Linked DNA regions of Homo sapiens: regions 2, 3, 4, 5 and 6 are each linked to region 1. The links are contacts of gene promoters, found by promoter capture Hi-C in blood cells and fetal thymus (Javierre and others, 2016). All regions are on one chromosome and are shown on one strand. The core of a region is centred on a gene start or on the middle of the fragment in contact, and the rest is flanking DNA. Distances in the headings are between cores, read along the strand shown.

What was found. The method cuts DNA at HindIII sites, captures the fragments that hold promoters and counts their contacts. A CHiCAGO score of 5 or more calls a contact.
Region 2: a contact is called between a fragment that was not itself captured here and the fragment with the promoter of HOXA5 in region 1, in 7 of 17 cell types (megakaryocytes, endothelial precursors, erythroblasts and 4 more). The highest score is 9.5, in megakaryocytes.
Region 3: a contact is called between a fragment that was not itself captured here and the fragment with the promoter of HOXA5 in region 1, in 10 of 17 cell types (endothelial precursors, total CD8 T cells, megakaryocytes and 7 more). The highest score is 12.9, in endothelial precursors.
Region 4: a fragment that was not itself captured here is called in contact with the fragment with the promoter of HOXA5 in region 1 in 1 of 17 cell types (neutrophils); the score reaches 6.0 in neutrophils.
Region 5: a fragment that was not itself captured here is called in contact with the fragment with the promoter of HOXA5 in region 1 in 1 of 17 cell types (neutrophils); the score reaches 5.8 in neutrophils.
Region 6: a contact is called between a fragment that was not itself captured here and the fragment with the promoter of HOXA5 in region 1, in 1 of 17 cell types (neutrophils). The highest score is 7.6, in neutrophils.

The regions. Positions count from the first base shown.
Region 1 is chr7:27,141,433-27,144,942 of GRCh38, forward strand. It overlaps HOXA5 (homeobox A5), which reads right to left and starts at 2,249. Exons shown (of 2, transcript NM_019102.4): 1 at 1,614-2,249; 2 at 1-653. The coding sequence starts at 2,175. The coding sequence ends at 403. All of the region lies in intron 1 of HOXA3 (homeobox A3), which reads right to left. All of the region lies in intron 1 of HOXA-AS3 (HOXA cluster antisense RNA 3), which reads left to right. The HindIII fragment of the contact is 13,335 bases long and covers 718-3,510 here.
Region 2 is chr7:26,671,258-26,674,767 of GRCh38, forward strand. All of the region lies in intron 11 of SKAP2 (src kinase associated phosphoprotein 2), which reads right to left. Among named protein-coding and RNA genes, the nearest start is that of LINC02860, 35 kb to the left of the region's middle. The HindIII fragment of the contact is 5,282 bases long and covers 1-3,510 here.
Region 3 is chr7:26,690,767-26,694,276 of GRCh38, forward strand. The region is part of intron 9 of SKAP2 (src kinase associated phosphoprotein 2); the gene reads right to left. Among named protein-coding and RNA genes, the nearest start is that of LINC02860, 55 kb to the left of the region's middle. The HindIII fragment of the contact is 311 bases long and covers 1,400-1,710 here.
Region 4 is chr7:26,730,022-26,733,531 of GRCh38, forward strand. The region is part of intron 6 of SKAP2 (src kinase associated phosphoprotein 2); the gene reads right to left. Among named protein-coding and RNA genes, the nearest start is that of LINC02860, 94 kb to the left of the region's middle. The HindIII fragment of the contact is 2,978 bases long and covers 434-3,411 here.
Region 5 is chr7:26,777,328-26,780,837 of GRCh38, forward strand. All of the region lies in intron 4 of SKAP2 (src kinase associated phosphoprotein 2), which reads right to left. Among named protein-coding and RNA genes, the nearest start is that of SKAP2, 86 kb to the right of the region's middle. The HindIII fragment of the contact is 3,889 bases long and covers 1-3,510 here.
Region 6 is chr7:26,815,257-26,818,766 of GRCh38, forward strand. The region is part of intron 4 of SKAP2 (src kinase associated phosphoprotein 2); the gene reads right to left. The region is part of intron 1 of LOC124901606 (a long non-coding RNA gene); the gene reads left to right. Among named protein-coding and RNA genes, the nearest start is that of SKAP2, 48 kb to the right of the region's middle. The HindIII fragment of the contact is 6,899 bases long and covers 1-3,510 here.

The DNA of each region.
Region 1 (3,510 bases), core at 999-3,498:
ACAGGAACACTTCCACGCACATGCACAGTTAAACAACTTGAGTGCAACACACAACATTGGCACTAAACGAGATTGAAGGGGGACTTTTTGTGTGTTTTTTTTTCTCTTTTCTTTTTTTGTTATAGTTACTTCAAGTAACACAGCTTGCTTCATATAAATAAGTTAAAACATCTATTTTTTTTCAAGACAAAGCCATTCAGGACAAAGAGATGAACAGAAAGCAGATCTACTTATACAGGCGCTATAATGGCAATAAACAGGCTCATGATTAAAAGATGAATTAGGGCAACGAGAACAGGGCTTCTTCACAGAAGGAACACAAGGGAGTTTCAGAAAGTCACCTTAGTACTGACACTACGCGGGATCCGCTAATACTGCTCAGTACTTTAAACGCTCAGATACTCAGGGACGGAAGGCCCCTCCTGCCGCGGCCATGCTCATGCTTTTCAGCTTATTATCTTTTTTCCACTTCATTCTCCGGTTTTGGAACCAGATTTTAATTTGTCTCTCGGAGAGGCAAAGAGCATGTGCTATTTCAATCCTCCTTCTGCGGGTCAGGTAACGGTTGAAGTGGAACTCCTTCTCCAGCTCCAGGGTCTGGTAGCGCGTGTAGGCCGTCCGGGCCCTTTTGCCTTCCGGGCCGCCTATGTTGTCTGCAATAGAAAAGTCAGCGGTTTAGCCACCAACTCCTGTCTTCCAAAGTCCGCCAGGGGGACAAGCTTGGGTCATGAGCAGGGAACCCAGGCGAAAAGCTCAACAAGTTCTGCCTACCAGCCCGCACACCCCTCCCGAATTTCCTTCTCTCTTCCTTTCTAGAAAGAAAACAATACGATTTGGACCCTGGGAACAATCTGCCCATCTGAGGCTGGGGCCGTGTCCCGGCGGACTCCGGCTTTCCCTGGCCCCTCTCCTGCCCCCTCCGCCCTGCCCCGGGCGCCCCGATCGGGAGGCACAGCCCTCCCAGGCTGCCCACCGCACAGAAACCCAGGAAGCAAGGCCCTTTCCTGAGCGCCCAAGTGGCCTTCGGGTCACCCTCCCTCAAAGTTCCAGCCCCGAGAGCCGCCTCCCGTTTCCAGCCTGCAGGGTTGGGGAGCCTGTTTTCTTTTTCTTCCCTTTCCTTCTCTCTCCCTCCTGCCCCCAAAATTCAGAATCCTGCAGGCTCTCGCCTCGATTCTTTCCCCCAAGCCCCTTTTCGGGGGCTGTAATTAGTAACGCTGTTTCCCCAGCGTAGCCCTCCTCATAAATTATCCGCCGTGACAAGCCCGATTCACGGCTGCTACAGCCATCCTCTACCTCTCTGCGCCTTGCTCGGCTGGCCTGACCCGGGAGCGCGTCCCAAGGCGTGGGGTTCCAGAGGGGTTTTTTGCTTCCTCCCCCTTCCAACGTCTAAACTGTCCCAGAGAACGCCCATTTCCCCCACTATTTGTGAGCGCAGGGTGCTCGCAAAGAAGAGGAGGAAGGAGGAAGGCAGGGGAGGGAGAACGGCAAGGAGAGCTCCGCAGGGCTGGGAGAAATGAGACCAAGAGAGACTGGGAGAGGGCGGCAGAGAAGAGAGGGGGGACCGAGAGCCGCGTCCCCGCGGTCGCGTGGATTTAGAAAAAGGCTGGCTTTACCATGACTTATGTGCAGCTTGCGCATCCAGGGGTAGATCTGGGGTTGGGCGGGCGGCGCCGGGCTCGGCTCGCTCTGCGCACTCGCCTGCTCGCTGCTGGCAGGGGCGTCCTCCTCGGCTCCGGACGCCGTGCCAACCCCCTCTCTGCTGCTGATGTGGGTGCTGCCGGCGTCGGCCGAGGCGCCGCTGGAGTTGCTTAGGGAGTTTTTCCCGCCGTGGTGGCTGTCGCTGCCGGGCGAGGGGGCCACGGCGGAGCAGGGCAGCGGATCGGGCTGAGGAGAGTGCGTGGACGTGGCCGGCTGGCTGTACCTGGGCTCGGCGGGCGCCGCGCTGGCGCTGGCAGCGTAGCTGCGGGCGCGCTCTCCGGAGCCAAAGTGGCCGGAGCCCGAGCGGCCGACGCTGAGATCCATGCCATTGTAGCCGTAGCCGTACCTGCCGGAGTGCATGCTCGCCGAGTCCCTGAATTGCTCGCTCACGGAACTATGATCTCCATAATTATGCAACTGGTAGTCCGGGCCATTTGGATAGCGACCGCAAAATGAGTTTACAAAATAAGAGCTCATTTGTTTTTTGATATGTGTGCTTGATTTGTGGCTCGCGGTCGTTTGTGCGTCTATAGCACCCTTGCACAATTTATGATGAATTATGGAAATGACTGGGACATGTACTTGGTTCCCTCCTACGTAGGCACCCAAATATGGGGTACGACTTCGAATCACGTGCTTTTGTTGTCCAGTCGTAAATCCTGCCTGATGACCTCTAGAGGTAAACTCGTGCACTAATAGGGGAGTTGGGTGGAGGCGAGGGGGGTGGCGCGCGCGCCCCGGGCGCGTGCCCGCCGCCAGTTGCCGCCGTTCAGCCGGACTCGAGCGCCACCCGCTGGAGGCAGGGCTCATCGCCCAGCTTCCGACCGGGGGCTGCAAGGGCCGGGGTCGAATTGAGGTTACAGCCCATTATGGCAAAATTATTGCATTTCCCTCGCAGTTCCATTAGGATGTACCAATTGTTAGGCCGTCAGCTGCCGATCGCGCGCCCGGCGAGGATGCAGAGGATTGGGGGGAGGTGGTGACTTGCATTTTATTTACAACAACTTTATTTCCCCCGTTTTGCAGCCCCTCTTATTTTTGTGTCGAGGTTGGGGTCGGTACTGACCGTCCTGCCAGCAGCTCTGAATTTTGAAAATACAGATATCACCTTCGGGGAAGGGGGAAAGCCATTTAGCCAATTGGAGAAATAAATCCTGCCCGCAGCAGCAGCAGCTACAATTACGGCTCTGTTTTTGCGAGCGCATGAGGGACAGTGTCCCTGCCGCTCTTAAATGACAGGCGTCTATTAAAGATAGCTTTTGTGTAGTGTTTCTCCAAGGCGAGGTCAAATTCCATACACTTTTATAACCGTAGTCGATTTTTCTTTCGTGTGAATATGGTTTTCGTGTCATTAGTTTGCGATTTGATTTGCTTACGTATCCAGCCTGGAAAATCTTCATCACAGGGTCCGGTTCCTCGAGCCAGCCGGGCCCCAAGTCGGAGGGTTCTCCTTGAACCCAGCGAGTGGGCCCAGGCTCCCTGCAGCCACAGAGGCTGCCTGGGGTCTGGGGATCCGTGGGGCGGGTTACTGGGGTCTTGCTTAGACCTCCAGGAGTAAAATGAGGGCGATAATGGAAGCATTCCTTGGCAGTGCCTAGTATCTCTGTAGTTATTTTCCACGGCTCCGAAAGACTCAAGTAAATCACAAATATAGCTGAGAGGCAAGTGGAGTCTCCCCGCTGGAGGCCCGGCGTTGCAGGCGCCCCTGGCACGTCTGGAAGCCAGGACTCTGGCGGCTCCCATGGCCCTGGGCCCCTCGTTGGGTCCTGAACGCTGCTGTGGCGGCGACGCGGGCGCTATCGGAGGCTGGGA
Region 2 (3,510 bases), core at 716-3,215, 470 kb before region 1:
ATTTTTCATATAAGATAAATTTTCAAAATCAATCCCAAAAGTAATTTAATAGGTTATGATTTTCCAGCATCTGAGTCATAGATAAATGTGCATATGTATATTGAGTTATATGTGGGGAGGGAATGTTAATACTAGTACAGACTTAATATTTGTATTGATTAGTATGCTATTGACCATCAGAAAGGAAAATTATGCAATTCTTTAATACAAATGTAGCATTACATTAGCGTGTATGTATTGATATGTAGTCTATCAATAGAGAGATTATAGGATAAAATCCATAGGCACTTTTTCAAACAGTGGGCAGTATCAGGATTAGGTTTATTGGAAGAACAAAGTGGAGGGGGAGAGGGGAGAAAAGACCACTCCTGCTATTGTTATTCTATTGAGGGCACAGCTCTGGCTTGTGAGGCAGTAAACTCAAGATTTTAAGTTTTAAACTTTTAAAGTTCATTGATAGTGTGAACTTAGTGGACGAAGCTGTATAAGGAACGAGGATACTCTGATGCCCAGAACCCAATGATGGCTATAATCTATGTAGGACATATTTATCAGAAGAAAATACTAACTTACTGAAAGTCATGATTAGCAACGATTATATCTTAATAGGTACCTAATAAAACTACCCTTTTCTATTTTTAAGGCAATGAATACAATTAAAGCCTAATGCTTAAAAAAACACACGTACTTAACGTTCCACAGACTACTGTAAGATTTCAAAGTGGATAATTAACAGGGTAGGTCTGAGTGTTAAAGCTCTTATTCAATGCCAATATAAGATTTTTGAAACTGATTATTTGGAATGAGAAAAGGAACTAGCCCCCTGCTCCCCAGTGACAGACATAGAAAACATTCAGTGAGAAGACATATTATTGGCATAAACTTGCTTCCAGAGAATGGCCCTCAATCTGGGGGTCAATGCTTAGATTCAAATTACAAGACAGAAAGTTATTACTTTATAATATTCTACTTTGGTCATAGTCTATGCTATCAACTAAAGGCATGTTATCATTTTCAAAAAGTTACTCACACCCAAATTTAAGAAATTAGTTCCCAAGAAATCACATCAACAAGGGCAGACTTCACAGTTGAGAGAATTCTGTGCTATGGTAGAACAGGAAGATTTATTAACTAGAAAGCATAGTGGTAAACAGCAGGGAGGAGCTTAATCAACTATAAACAAATCCCTTAAAAGTTATACTCTAGGGAGAAAAAAGGTTTAGACTAAAATAATCTTAAATGCTTCACTTAATTTAAAATAATTGAAAAACATAGGAAACATACACTTGATAAAAATACTCTAAAATATCAGATTTAAATCAGAAAAGGTAAAACTAAAAACCAGAATATTACCTTATATTTGTAAAGAATTGCAAATTATATTCCTGTTTGAAATTAATGCATTATGATCAAATATAGTGAGGTAAAAATACAGGAGGCAAATTTATGGATTTACACTGCAGCCATTAGAGTGTTGACAAGACTGCAAATACAGGAGCTTTTTACTTTTATCATTACTATTCTCTGTATGAGCCTCCTGAGCAACATGAATCCCAATTAAACCATTTGCAGCCTATAAATTGGAATGAAAATGCTTCTTGGAGTACAGTATTCTAAACTTTGGCCTGAACATTCAATATTGTACAAGGTTTCCTTCTGAAAAAGAAAATCTGCCTGTCTATGCCTTTCCTCTTTTCCACCCCCAAACAAATGTGATTATGAATGATATATTACTTACAGTGGAAAATAATGCAACTGATACAATGTTGTTTTGCAGTCCACAAACTAATTATAGTATTGTTCTATAAAGTCACAAGTGGATCATTTAAAAAACAAAAAGGAAAACTCTCAAACTTTATCTTCTTAGCAAACAAAAAATAGACAATCCATACCAGGCTGTTGTCTAAATCTTTGAAATGTTAGGAAGCATCATGTAATCTTTATGGAACACAAGGTTTCAGGTACAAGGAGGTCTGCCATCTGGTATCCTTCACCTATTCAGCTCTTAACATCAGCTGAAATGCTAACATAGGCAAGTGACTGTACTTCAGGAGGACTGATAAAATAATGAAGAGTCCTTTAATCTACAGGAAACCATTCTAGTCAATTTATAAGAAATATTGCATCCCTTTGTAGGACGTGTAATTATTTTCTATTAATCATGTGCTATAAAGCTACATTATGCGGTTATTCTGTTATCACTAGAAAGAGGCCTGCAGTCAGCTTCTGACAATGTTAGGTAATTACTAACACAAAGCTGCTTTCTCCTCCTGCAGTAATGCTATCAAGATCCAGAGGTGTAGTGATGCTTATTGTATAAAAATAGTACTCAAAAGAAATTCAATATCTGCAAAATGGATGGCTTCAAGGCAAAATGTAGTGTGGCAATCAAAGAAGCAAAAAAAAGCCAAACTTGCCCAGTAATCCGAGAAAATAATAGTAAGGCGGTAGTGAATGCTTGTGATCTAACTCCCATGTTTTCAATTTTCATACCATTATAGTCATTTTATTTGTTTTATTTTGTAGTTGAAATTTTAGTCCCCAATTAATATTTATTGAGCAGTAAGAGTGACTGGGTAAGAAGGCAGGAAAAAGGACTAGTTATGATAAAGTGAAACAGAGACTTTATCCAACATAATAGTAATATTTACTCATTAACTAAATCTTCTTTCTCTGCTGGAATATTATTTTACACTTAAATAAGGCCCCAACATTTACTTAAATCTTTTTCAGCACCATGACTGTCATTTATCGAGTATGTTAATCCGCTTTCTGCGAATGATATGGTAAAAGAATGCTGACTTAACAGAAACCTGAAACATTAAAAGATTTAATAATGTACTAACCCTTTCAGAAATTAGTTACCGATGTGTTTGAAAGCAACAGGTGTTTGCAATGTTAAAAAAAATTTGTGTCCTTTTCCAAACATATATCTGTGCTTCAAAACACACCAGCCTTTTGTGAAAATGAAAGTAATTTTATTCACAAAACATAAAATACAGCAAGTTTAAGAACCAATGGACTTGACTGTTGTTTTCCAAGTATTCTTCATTGTGATATCTTTATTCATAAACACTGTAATACTATGAAAACTAGATACCTATTTAAAGTGTATAAATACTTTCATCAAGGCTACCTCTTTAGTCTCTTTTTTATTAACTCCGATTAGAAACTTTGTAAGAATCCTCTCATTTCTCATACATTCATTGTTTCAAAAGGTTATCTTTATAAATGCACAACAGGAACTGTACAACCTCGGCGTTTTACTATTACTATCTATACATTAACTACTTGAATCTTAGATTCCTAACCTGTTAAATGAGGAAACTGACACAATCTCTAAGGACCTCCATGATGTTTGAGCACCACCATTCAGGAACCTGATTGAAGACACTAAGTTCTCTAGTGGTGTACGGAGATCAATCTCATTACTTTGCAATTTACTTTGCAGGTGTGACTTTGAGTTCCTCTAATTCAAAGAATTACTGTTTTTCCTCCTTGCATTGTATA
Region 3 (3,510 bases), core at 305-2,804, 450 kb before region 1:
GCGTTATACTGATACACCACATTGTACTGTGTGGCAGGAGTATCATATATAAAATCATGGTCCCTAAAACATCATATAGCAAGGAGAAATGTGTGATTAAAAATGCAGTTAACCTATAAATCATTTTTTTGAGTATCACATAATTTCATACGTTTTCTCAATCTTCACAGGAAGATACTATAATGATCTTCATCCTTTGAGGTAATTCCCCCAAAATTATACCAAGGACCTATTATGTGTCATATACAATGCTGGATGTTAAAATCTCATAGACAAATAATTTTTAATCCTCATTCTACAGACAAGTTTATCTTTAGAGACTCAAAAAGGTGAAGTAACTTCCAAAGTGTGTCATTCGAACTTAAGTTTGTGATTATAAAGTCAATGTTCTTTATCCTACATATAATCAGTGCTCCATTTACATTTGTTCCACACTCACCTATACCATTCCTTCCCCAAATTATGCAAAGAAATAAGATAAAATTAAATGAGAAGAGCTTTAAATAGACTTAATAAACTAATTCATTTACACCAAGAAAAATATTTATTACATGATTTTTCCTCACCTAAGGATTTGCATACAAACCTAGAAATACTTAAGGCAGGACATATAAACAAATGGCATGCCAAAGAAAAACTGGATTCAAAGAGAATCATAATTTCAAGAAAACTCCTAAAACTTTAAAGAAAAATATGCAAAATATATAAATGTAGTCATTGTAACTATTCAATCAATCAGTCAATCAATCTTCATTGGATATTAACTAACTGTGAGACAGAAGAGATCTACCAAGGAGGTAAAAGTAACAGGAAGCCTCTGCTCACAGGAAGCTGACAGCACAGATGGGACAGAAGACAAGCTCTAAAGGAAAACAGGCTGAAGGGGCCTAAACCTGACAAGTGATGCACAAAGCACTGAAGAAGTGCAGCAGAGAAACCCCCCAACTAGGGAGTACCACGGAGGCTCCAAGGGATGGAGAGAGTTTAAATAAGGAGAGAGGATAAGAAGGATATTTCCGGAGGGATAGGTATGATCTTTAAAAGAAAAAGGCATGTTCATATTCATTTTGACTAAAGAATCTGGTACACATAGGGGAAGAGCTGGGTAGGAGTTACGCTCATAGTTTGGACCAGCTGTTGAGGGGCCATGAACATCTTGTTATGGACTGCAGGCTTTTATTTGGTGGGCAATAAGAGCCTTCGAAGGTTTTTTGAGCAGAGAAAGGGCAGGACTGAAGCTATGCTTCAGGAATGGACATCTGATCCCATTGTCTCAGACAGCCTAAAAAAGGGGCGGGAGAGAGACTACTGTGGATAAAGGGGAAGGAAGTCCTGAACTGAAGGGGCAAAGGAAATGGAAAGGAGATGGTTATAAGAGGTAAAGGAACTAGAATGGATAAGCTTTGTGCCTGAATGTGGAGGAATGAGGGGGGGGAAAAGAGCAACAAAGGATGGCTAAGGTTTTGAGCTTAGTTAACTGAGAAATGGACATATTATTACTAAAAGGAGGATAGCCAAAATAATCTATCTTACTGGGGAACACAAAGAGTTGTGTTTTCAACAGGAGGAATTTAATGTATTGGTGAGGCAACCCAGAGAACATGTCTGGGCAACTGCAAAGTATGGTAGAGCAGTCAGGACTACAGGTGGAAATTTAGGAGTCTCCTGAAAATGTTAAATGGGGATGAATCAAAATCAGCATTTCAACCAAGCTTGAGAGGGTAGCTGTACTTACACGACAAATAGAACTGTTCTGAATTTCTGTAACTCAATTCAAACAAAATAATGACAACTCCAATATAAGGGACACCTGAAAATATCTGGCATTTTATTCATATTGTTAAACATAACACTGACAATTTAATATGGTTCAGTCAAATATATAGAAGACCTAATAAAAGTATACCACTCTTTTAAAAAGTATCCTGTCTCTTTTCTTTTTAACAATAGTTATCTCACTTATGCCAAACCTTAAAGGCTAGCTTTAATAAATGGGTTAATAGGGTGTTTCCATATAAATTTTTAAAGGTAGAAGGAACGTTTACAGTCATTATTCCAACCTACTCATTTTATTGACAGATAATTTGGTAAAAGGTGAAGGAGAAAGCTTTCCTTACTTTTCACACTTTCTTTCCATAGCACCCACTCCCCTTTTAATTTAGTCACAAATTCAATAGTAAGAAATAAATTAAAAAATGGATAAAGGCACTCGTCCTCAGTCAAAAGCTATAACCGCATCAATACAATAAGTATTATTAGTGGCTTTTAAGAAGAGACTGTGGGGGCTGGGCATGGTCGGTCACGCCTGTAATCCCAGCACTTTGAGAGGCCCAGGCGGGTGGATCACCTGAGATCAGGAGTTCGAGACAAGCCTGGCCAACATGGCAAAACCACGTCTCTACTAAAAATACAAAAATTAGCATGGCATGGTGGCAGGCGCTTGTAATCTCAGCTACTCAGGAGACTGAGGAAGGAGAATCGCTTGAACCTGGGAGGCGGAGGTTGCAATGAGCTGAGATCGCGCCACTGCACTCCAGTCTGGGCGACAAGAGTGAAGCTCCATCTCAAAAAAAAAAAAAAAAAAAAAGAGACTGTGGGATTTAGATTTCACCACCCAAATCAGCATGAACATATAAAAATTCATTACAAGACTTAATGAAAAAACTCTGCTCTTTGACAAAGTTAACAATGAATTTAGAAGTATTTGTTACTATGAATTTTTTATTTTATTAAAACTTAAGTGCCAGTAACATGTGCTCTGGATTGTATATTGGTGTCAGAGAGCTTTGTTCTTAGAAATATGCACTCTTAAATTATCAGAATAATGATATTAAAAGTATTTACTTAAGAATTAATGTTTACTATAAAATATCCAAATTGAAATCCATGTAAGATGCCATTTAATAAGCAGATTTTAGAGGATGAGATGCTCATTAAGGACACTTCCTTTTTCCATTTTAAACCTGGTAGCGATATTTTTAAACCAAAGCTTTATGCATTTAATATATCAATTTTTCTTAACAATATTTAAACAACTCATTTTATCTTGGCTAACAATACAAATAGCTTCCATATAAAAGATAACAAAATCAAATATGGTGTATGTTTTTGAATCTTAGGCAGGGAAAAAAACCTCAGACTGAACCTTGAATAGAACTTGGCACAAAGGAGATGTTCGATAAATACAGAATAAACAAATGGATTAAAAAAATCATACAAATAAATCTTAACATATTCATTTATTAATAGAATAAAGCTCTTAAAAATATGTAAGAACAAGTGACCAAAATTCTAGGCAATAATCACCTTCACAATATATTAGAAATATATACATTCACATATTTTTTTATTTAGGTTTATTATTAAATATGTATTATTTTGGTGTTGAGGCACAATGTCATTGTACAATACTAATTAATACCTCAAGTAGTCAATGTTTGTGAGTTAATATATTCCATTCAACATTTTAATAACAGTAAACAAAAACAGCTCAGCTATGCAGTAAAATCC
Region 4 (3,510 bases), core at 673-3,172, 410 kb before region 1:
CAGAGGAAACTCACAACTCTTTCTAATAGCTTTTGCAGAACCATAACCATGAAGTAGCCATATCTCCAATTAGCCAATACAGGACAGGAAGTTCAAGACGTGAAATGGGCAGACATGGCTATAAGACAACACTGTTCTCCTCCTTTCACATTAGTTTCTCTTCTGGAGAGAGAAACTTCACCATTATGTGGTAAGTCATAAGAATTTACATATAGATTAGTTCCACAATTGCTTTTTGGGATAGTTTCAAGGATACCTGTTAACAAAATTATCAAAAATAGTAAAATGCCAATCAAATAGGAAATAAAGCTATAAAGTCCATTTACCCAGCACTGTGAAAGACTAATATTTTATCTAGGTGAACTTCACAAATAGCAAAAGCTTATTCCTTTAAGTGCCAAAACTTTTAAAAATGTTAATCATTGTGATGGAAAGCTTTCTAAAATATATACTTGCCTAACTTCTCAAACAAATCTTTTAAACATAACATTTTTTTCTTAACATAGTATCATTTTGAGTATTAGTTTTTATAACACATTGATGCCTTCAGAATTTTTGAGGTGTTTGTTCCTCTATTACATTTCTCTCAGCTTCTGTTTCACACTTTAACCTAACCTCTATCATGCTGTTTGAATGTAATGTCTACAGAACTGAAGGCTGCCAGGAAAAACTAGATAATGAAATCTATTATATCAGTAACTTAATTTTACACAATCCTAATTCAGCAGGTTCAAGGTAAAAAGCAGTTGGCTCTGATTTCCTACAAAACAAAATGCATAAGGCTAATAAGAGCAATTTCCTTCTACTTTTTCACTGGCTTTTAGGTTTACAGCTGTGTTCTGGGGGTTTTTTAAGCTGTCAAAAAGACAACTCACATTTACTGAGCTTCTACATGTCAAGAACTTAATAGAACATATCTCATATACACCTGGTAATAATTCTAAGCAATAGAGGAGACATATTATATTCCCAGCACTGATGGGAAAACAAACTTTAACCAATTTGCTCACGGTCACACAAATAGTAAACAGTAAAAGCCAGGACCCTAGGAAAGTCTGGTTCTAAAGCCTTGCTTTTTCAGCCATTTCACACTGTTTTCTAAAAAGGTGTTTCTCAAAGTATATTTTAAGAATCACCTATGTTAGAATCAACTTGGACGCCTGTTAACACAGAATTGGCTACCACTCTGCACTTGCTATATAGGAATCTCTGTGGGTGAGTCTAGGAAACCAAATTTTTAGCAAGCACCCCAGGTGATTTTGATACACACTACAACCACTGTCCTCAATACAATGTGAAATATACAAAATCACGGTAGAGAAGATAAATGTTATTTTGCATTTCGTCCTACAACTTAGGTCAAACTTTCTCAGCTTTCTTTATGGGTTCCTCTACCTCTGCCTATCTCTTAAAAAGCTATGATGCGTTGTTCTAAGTCTTGCTCTCTTCTTACATTACACTCTCCCTGGGCAATCTCATCTAATTCCAAGAATTAAATTCCTATCAATATACTTGTGACTCATGATTCTCTACTTTTAGTTCATTTTCAAAACTGTTTATCCAAATCTTCATCTGCTCACTAAATATGTTTCATTTCTCAAATGTCCTATAGGCTCATTGAATAGAAAGTGCCCACAATGGAGATCATCTTATCCCCACTCCCAACACTTGTGATGCCAACAACTGTGATATTTCTTGTTGTATCCCCCATCTCAATAAATGGCACCTCCATTAATTCAAGCTCCCAAACCAGAAAACTGGGCACCATTTTTTATTTTGCCCTTACCTTCACCAACTGCCCCGACGTTACCCCCTACACTCCAATGCCACCTACCAAAATCTAAACAGACCTTCTATTTTTCTGGCAAATATACTTGTTTTTTCTCTTCTTCATTGGCTCTCAGAAAAATATGCTTAAAACACCAACCACTCTCATACCATTTTAAATACAGCATAAATATTGCAACCAAATAATTCCAAATCCTTTAGCATCCCTACAAGTTATGGACATTTATTATTTGGGGCTCCCCAGCATCCATGCATCTTTCCTATTTTAATTCCAAGATTGTCAGGGATAGGGCTTAGTTTTCCATCACAGAAGCTGGAGAGAGATGGATTTTCCCTGTTCCAACTTAATCAAAGTGGATGCTCCAGACTGGAACCTAAATCTCCAGTAAGTAACAAAAGGATCAAGAGAGGGTTCAGAATCCATTCTGGTGGCAATGGCACTCACTGATTGATGGCAGTGCACAGTGGCAACATCACATGTCCTGGCTTGGCAAGGCCCAAGCCAGCAGTGTGTCCCAATAAGATTTTTCATGGATTATGCTCAAGATCCAGCCCCCTTACCTACCTTAGTTCTTGCTTGCTTGCTGAGCCTGTGTGTAGCATTCTTAGCAATTCTGAGAGCTGATATTTTCCTAATAATTTCCCTTTCTGCATAAACAAAGTTGGTTTCCGATGCTTATACCAAGAACACTAACTTGGCACAAATGGCTAGCAAACAAAAATATGAAATGTGTTCAGCAATATCTACTACTTATATTTAAGAAGGCCTTTTCCCTTCAGTGAATAACTTACGTTATTTCCACAAGTATTAGTACTCATTAGTAGGGAAAAGAAAAATATGCCCATCAATACTAGACCTTGCCACTAAATTTTATCAAACTGACTAGCAAGATGTTCCAGCTCCTCAGTTAAAGATATATGAACATTCTCCTTTGGTTTATACAGCTTGCAGATGCCAATGCTAAATCAGCCACTTGAAATATATCTCTGGGGTTTTGTGTAGAAGTGAGACTAGATATCAAACCAACAACATTCGTGGTCATCAGACCCTTAGTAAAACTTGGTTTGTACCTGACTATTTCTGCATGTTGATGAAATCCTACTAAACATCAGATGTACATTTTAACTTCTATATACTGTTAGAGAGTCTCTTAGCCATAAAGGCAGAAAATAAAGGCATAGCTTTAATTTAATGTTTGTAATCCCAGCTACTCAGGAGGCTGAGGCAGAAGAATCGCTTGAACCCGGGAGGCGGAGGTTGCAGTGTGCTGAGATCATGCCACTGCACTCTGGCCTGGGCAACAGAGCGAGACCCCGTCTCAAAAAAAAAAAAAAGTTTATTGTGATAAGTTTTAAAGTTAATACTTTCATATCAAAGACCCAAAAGTCTATAAAATTGTAATAATTTCTGATAAAAGTAGAATTAATGGTTCCTATTTCTTAAGGAATAAAGATATCCTTCACATACCAGATGGAAACAGAATTGCAATTTAAATTTTTTAAATATCAGAATTCACTTACACATTTAATATATATCATCTTGATATAATTATAAAATTATATAATTACAATTATAAAATGACAGAATTTGTTTCTGTCAAATGAATCAGAAGAAAAAAGGTAAGCTTTTATGGCTTTCTATTAAGTTGTTGTTACAAAACAACAGAACTTTTAATTATACAAATATAAGTACTGTCACTTTAACATATTCAAAACAATATT
Region 5 (3,510 bases), core at 641-3,140, 360 kb before region 1:
TTCAGACATAAGATCTTTTTCTCCCCTAAGAGAATAAATGGGGACAAAAAAGAGGAAATAAGATTTGCTTTTGATAAAATTTGCTATTAAAAAAGTACACATTAATAGTTCTTTGAATATTTGATATTATTTTCTCAGATGTGTAGGATCCTCAATTATTTAGTTTTAATCTTCTGTCAATTTTCTTGCTATGCCTTTAACCAGTGATAACAGACTGATCAATCTACACCCCTAGGCAGTGTATTCTTCTGCTTATCCACATGGTAGCAGTGTGTTTCAAATTAAGGTCACCAATGTGGGAATATAAATGAGTACCCAAAATGCTGGCAGAAAGCAGCTGCTCCTTGTTTTACATACATAAACAGAAGAATACCAAATAATGATGGTAACAATATATCACAAAAGTCCAGAGTGTTCTGTCAAGACAAACAAGATACTTCTAGGGAGGAGTAATAAGAAACATGTCAAAGACAGGCATGAATGGTATTTCAAGGTAAAAACAGGAAAACAGACCAAGTTCTGGTAAATACTACATACCTGGTAAAATCCTGGTAACATACTACATACTCATTTTTTTTTAACAACTCAACACCTATAAATGAACTGATTATAGGTATTTAAATCCTGAGAATATATAATTTTATAAGCTATAAATTTTGAAATGCCAATCCTATTAATTATATTTTGTTAGTTCTATAGCAAAAGGTAGCACAGAACCCTTTTGATGACCCTAAATTGATTCCTAACCACTGAGACCTAAGTCAGAACACTGCCAGGCTATAAGAATTGTAATGACAAGTCTAAAAGTTGTTTGTTCTAGGAAAATCATTATTGGTATATACGAAAGCACTTATTTTTAAGGGATGGGGGAAAAGCATTTCAGGGAGGCAAAATTCACAGTACTTAAAAGAACACGGCTGGGTTTAGCCTAGGCTCCCTTGGGGAAATACGACATTTAATCTCAGTTTCCTCAGCTGCAGAAGGGAACAATAAAAGCACCAATCTCAATTTGATGACTAAATGAAATAATTTATATAAAGTACTTAGAGCAAAATTTGACAGTGTTCTAGGCCCTTCTAGTTCCATACTATGATTCCGCTAACAATCAGTGCTGCACACATTCTCATATTTTTAAATTCATATAAAGGACATAAAGAACAGCAAAGAACTTTGAACTGATGGACATATTTCTATCACTGCATCCATTATTCTTCACTATATTAATCTGTTTATGTCTGTGAAGAGTACAGCACATTGGTCAAAGTCATTAGTTCAGGAGTCAGGTCCAGGTTTCCCAGTTCAAATTCAGCCACTAAAAACTGCATGACCTCAGATAAGTTACTTATCTGGGAAAGCAGGTAACACCTTACATCAAACATATATGTTTCTTCTGTGTCTAAAAGAAATACATTTTGGGATCAAGTAATGTAAACATGTAATACAAATTACATACATATTGTATACATGTATATAATATATAAAATAAATTTAAAGCAAAATAAATTTATTTCCTCTCCAATATTTGATATAACTTTTGAAGTAAATAAATGAATTACAATGATCTTCACTGTCAACATCAAAAGCAGCTATAAAGACTATTTTTCAGACTATGTAATGTCTGCTTTAATAGCCAAGACATTCTAAACTTAAGTCTAGAATTTCAAAGGACTCAGTAAGTTAAGCCCACTAGTTGAAATGAACTAGGAGGCAGTAAGTTTGAATGAGTGACAAGATTTAATTTTTAAAGATATTTTTCATAAAACAGTAATAACTGTTCTTAATTTGTGAATAGAAATGTGAATTCAAATATGTTATCAATAATTCCATAAAAATGTCTGATGGGGGCATCCTGCTTTTAAAAACTTATTAAGGATTACTTGTAATTGCTACCATTAAATAGCTGTTTATAAAATAAAAGAATGATTGTAATAAGATATTTCCTCTACAATCATTTTTACACAGTGAATTCTACTTTTACTTACAGACAGAATACAATTACCTGCCCTTATTACCACAAATTCTGAACTAATGGAAATAATTCCATTCATTTTATAAGTAGGTCTCTATGTTACAGATGGGAAAAATCTGAAGCCTAACAATACTCAATGAAATTTAATAAAGATAAAATGCAACTTTGTTCGTTGACATCAAATATCCCAATTAATATCTAAGACAGAAATGGAATACATTTTAATCTTTCCCTAATCTCAAAATTGACAACCACATGACAAAGCATTTCAATTCATATCATTCTATAAAATATACTGTTTAAATTAAGATTAGCTTCTTATTGGGATTCTGAGGGAAAATGTTCATGCACGACTTGATTTCAAGGCAATGAGAAATTACTGGAGGATTTTGGTCAGGGAGGTAACATAACATGTTAAAAAAATGTAGAGGGAAAAATTATTGAATTGGTCATAAATTAGATATAAACAACAGAAAATATGCCTAGAGTCTGCTTTTAAAAAACAAGTAATTTGTGTTTTAAGACAGGAGAGCCTGTTATACAATAATCCAATCTGCTAAAGTCATCATTAAAAACAGGTTTAAATAATTTCTATTTGAAATTAGATGACCTGCACTGACTAAGCTCTTATGTACAAACATTACAAACCAGGAGTGCCTGAAGTGAGAACAAGCAATTAGGGTCAACCAAAGGAAAACACTGTTATCTCTGACTCAAGAAATATAATATATTCAATAGAAAGTACTTGTAAGGTATGTACATGTGAGAAAATCACTGAGGTAAGTGTGAAAGACAGCCAAACTGGCCTGTTTCATCCCTGACTGACTTTGGAGAAGTTGCTTAACCTCTCTGTGCTGATTCCTGTAAAATGAGATATGTTAGTGGCTCATAGAGTTGTATGGATTAAATGAGTTAATGTGTGAAAAGTGCCCTGAAGAGTATCTGGCACATTAGCAAATGCTCAATAAATGGTAGCTGTTGCAATTATTATTGTGGTAAAGTTGTTTTATTCTGCTTAGTTCAACTCATGCTTCTGTCATCTGTCTCTCAGAAGCATTCATTTGGTTTTGAATGACCTAAATAATTTCCATTGTTGCATAGGGGCTATCTAGACTGGGGATGGATAATACATTTTTTCAGCTTTAGTGGCCAGACAGATTCTGTTACAACTACTTACTTCTTTTGAAGTAGCTTGAAAGCAGTCACAGATAATACGTAATGAATGAGCATGATTGTGTCCCAATAAAACTTAACTTATGGGCACTGAAATTTGAATTTCATATTATTTTCATCTCATGAAATATTGCTTTTATTTTTTTCAATCATTAAAAATATAAAAACCACTCTTAGCTTACAGGCTGTACAAAAACAGGTGGTAAGCTAGTTTGCCCATATATACACATAGATAAACACAGAACCCTCTTGGTCATAATTCCTCCATATATAAAACCAAAGTAATTGTGATCAGCTTTCCCAACTTTTAGATGTTCAAAAAGCAAAATTTATTTTCACATGAGGAGTAATGTCTAATTCATGGGCCC
Region 6 (3,510 bases), core at 370-2,869, 330 kb before region 1:
GTTTGAATGAAACAGAAAACCTGTACAATTAATTTTAATCTCTCTTGAAAGGGAGAGCTACTAAAGAACTAGACAGAATACAATACAGAGAATAGAATCTCAAGGTTGACACATAATATAGGATTTGTTTAGGTGCATTCTACTTTTTTCACAATAAAATCCTGCCATGCTATCATAAATGGCCAAAGAAGATTCTCTAAATAAAAATCAATAATTAGTTTTAAAAGGGTCGAATAGCAAAAAACATCCCATCAGCTGTCTAACAATATGACAAACTCAGTAACAGCCACAAAGAACCAATATAACTTATGGTGCCAAGGAGCCAGATGGTACTGCTGGAAAAAATTAAGTCTACAGATTGGCAGTTCGACCCTGTGATTATTGCCCAAGGGAGGACAAAGTGGAAGACGAGTGGGAGGTTCAGTATGATGGAGGATAAATCAATTACCACCAACTCACTACATTCTTCCTATGATACCCAAATAACAGATTCTAAATACCACATCAGTAAATTTTTCAAGGTTTAAGTAGCCCCAAACTTAGTTGGGAATGATAAAACAGTATATAGTAAAAAGTAGAATATAATCTCAGTTTTTCATCTTAAGCCCTAGTCAATTATATTGATAACCTGACCCAACTGCATAAAATCCACATACAATAAACACTAAAGCATTTTAGTATAGCTCCATTACTTAAAAATCAGGCTTTTAAAAAATTTTTGAAATTTTGCTTGACATTAAATGACAGCATTTGTTAAAATTCTATTTACTTTCCAAAAGGAGAATTATAAATAGATAATGGTTGCATATGATGATCTCATGGCTAAATAACTGACTTAACACGTTTTCTAACAAATGTTTTGTTCATGTTTTTGCTTATAAAAAGAAGCATTTCCCACTTTGTGCTATATAAAGAATGCTAAAGAAGTAGCAACATCGCAAGACACGTTCAAAATCCAACCACACGGTAGATAAAAGATAAGTGCATTGTTAATTTATGCAATTATGAAAAAATATCAATTTTACTCATACTTTTGAAATGAAAAATAGTTACATATTCAGCATTAACTGGCAGAGCTTATGCTGAGAAAAAATTTTTGTTTCTTTGGCCTCCTATCACTTATGAATACATACAGCTGTTTTGTATTACTCTAGTTTTAGTAGGCCAGATATTAAGATAAGAATATTAGGAATACTAAGATATTAAAGATAAGAAAATTTAGGCTATCAATTTTTAAAATACAGTCAATTTTTACAGCTGTTTTATATTACTCTAGTTGTAGTAAGTCAGATATTAAGAAAATTAAGAATACTAAGATATTAAAAATAAGAAAATTCAGACTGTCAATTTTTACAATATAAGTATGTGTTGATGCACTTAATATATTAGTAATTACACTAAGAGATGGCCTTTGGATTTTGTCTCAAACAACAATCAGTAACAGATCAATTAGATTTCTCTAGCAAAGAAATTTGATAAGGCAAAAAAAATGTTCTGATTAATTAGTTGCTAAGTATGAAAGCAAGACTAAATTCACAAGGATTCTAGAAAAGTATTAGTCAAATCACAGGCATAAACTAATTTGATCAAAGTTCACTGAAACCTTTCTGACACATTTTCTAACATGTTACAAAAGGATAGGAAATTAATTGCTAACATGGTTTGCTCAGTGCACTATCTGAACCCCTGTTGTGGGCACAGTCACAGTGATGGAAAAATTAATCTGAGAGGATATGCTTTACCTAAACCACACCTAACTCACTTTTCCTCATCAAACAAAAATTGTGTATGCATACTTCAAATAGCTTGTTTAAAACATTTATAACATTTTAAATGGACATCAGCATTTCAACACCTTATTACACATTCCCCCACCATGATTTTGGGATAAAAAGCTGTTCAATCTTTATATATCTGGACTAAATAACAGACCAGCAATGTGTTTATAGTCTCAGAGGAGTACAGCTAGTTCACAGGAGTGTATACATTCACACAGGTCTATAGGTTTATATATCCATCAAGATTTATAAAAATACATTGAAATACATCTTTAGATGAAAATCAGAACAGAAAGACAGGGGATTTAAAAGAATGTCAGCAGAGAGGAAATATTTCATGATAACGGACACTATTAAAACTCAGTGGATAGTAAAACAGAGCAAGAAAAAAAATTGGGGAACAATTGTCAACTAAAGGAGTTATTATTATATAAAATCCAAATATCATGTATATAAAGAACAACACCTATGTCTCATGCATTTTTACCATCCAAAGGATTAGAATTCCAGTTGATACAATTGCAGACAACAACATTAAGACTTTAAATTTATTTAATTATAAAACATATAGATAGACACATGACACAGGTTTATTTCTTTTTAAAAAATCAAATTGTCTCTGTTTGCAGATGACATTATTGTATATTTAGAAAACCCCATCATCTCAGCCCAAAATCTCAAGCTGATAAGCAACTTCAGCAAAGTCTCAGGATACAAAATCAATGTGCAAAAATCACAAGCATTCCTATACACCAATAATAGACAAACAGAGAGCCAAATCATGAGTGAACTCCCATTCACAATTGCAACAAGAAGAATAAAATACCTAGGAATACAACTTACAGAAGATATGAAGGACTTCTTCAAGGAGAACTACAAACCACTGCTCAAGGAAATAAGAGAGAACACAAACAGATGGAAAAACATTCCATGCTCATGGATAGGAAGAATCAATATCATGAAAATGGCCATACTACCCAAAGTAATTTATAGATTCAATGCTATCCCCATCAAGCTACCACTGACTTTCTTCACAGAATTAGAAAAAACTACTTTAAATTTCATATGGAACCAAAAAAGAACCCGTATAGCCAAGATGACCCTAAGCAAAAAGAACAAACCTGGAGGCATGACGCTACCTGACTTCAAACTATACTACAAGGCTACAGTAACCGAAACAGCATGGCACTGGTACCAAAACAGATACATAGACCAACGGAACAGAAAAGAGGCCTCAGAAGTAATGCCACACATCTACAACCATCTGATCTTTGACAAACCTGACAAAAACAAGCAATGGGGAAAGGATTCCCTATTTAATAAATGGTGTTGGGAAAACTGGCTAGCCATATGCAGAAAACTGAAACTGGACCCCTTCCTTACACCTTATACAAAAATTAACTCAAGGTGGATTAAAGACTTAAAACCTAAAACCATAAAAACCCTAGAAGAAAACCTAGGCAATACCATTCAGGACACAGGCATGGGCAAAGTTCATGACTAAAACACCAAAAGCAATGGCAACAAAAGCCAAAATTGACAAATGAGATCTAATTAAAGAGCTTCTGGACAGCAGAAGAAACTGTCATCAGAGTGAACAGGCAACCTACAGAATGGGAGAAAATTTTTGCAATCTATCCATCTGACAAAGGGCTAATATCCAGAATCTACAAGGAACTTAAACAAATTTACAAGAAAAAAACAACCCCATCAAAAAGGGGGTAAAGGATAT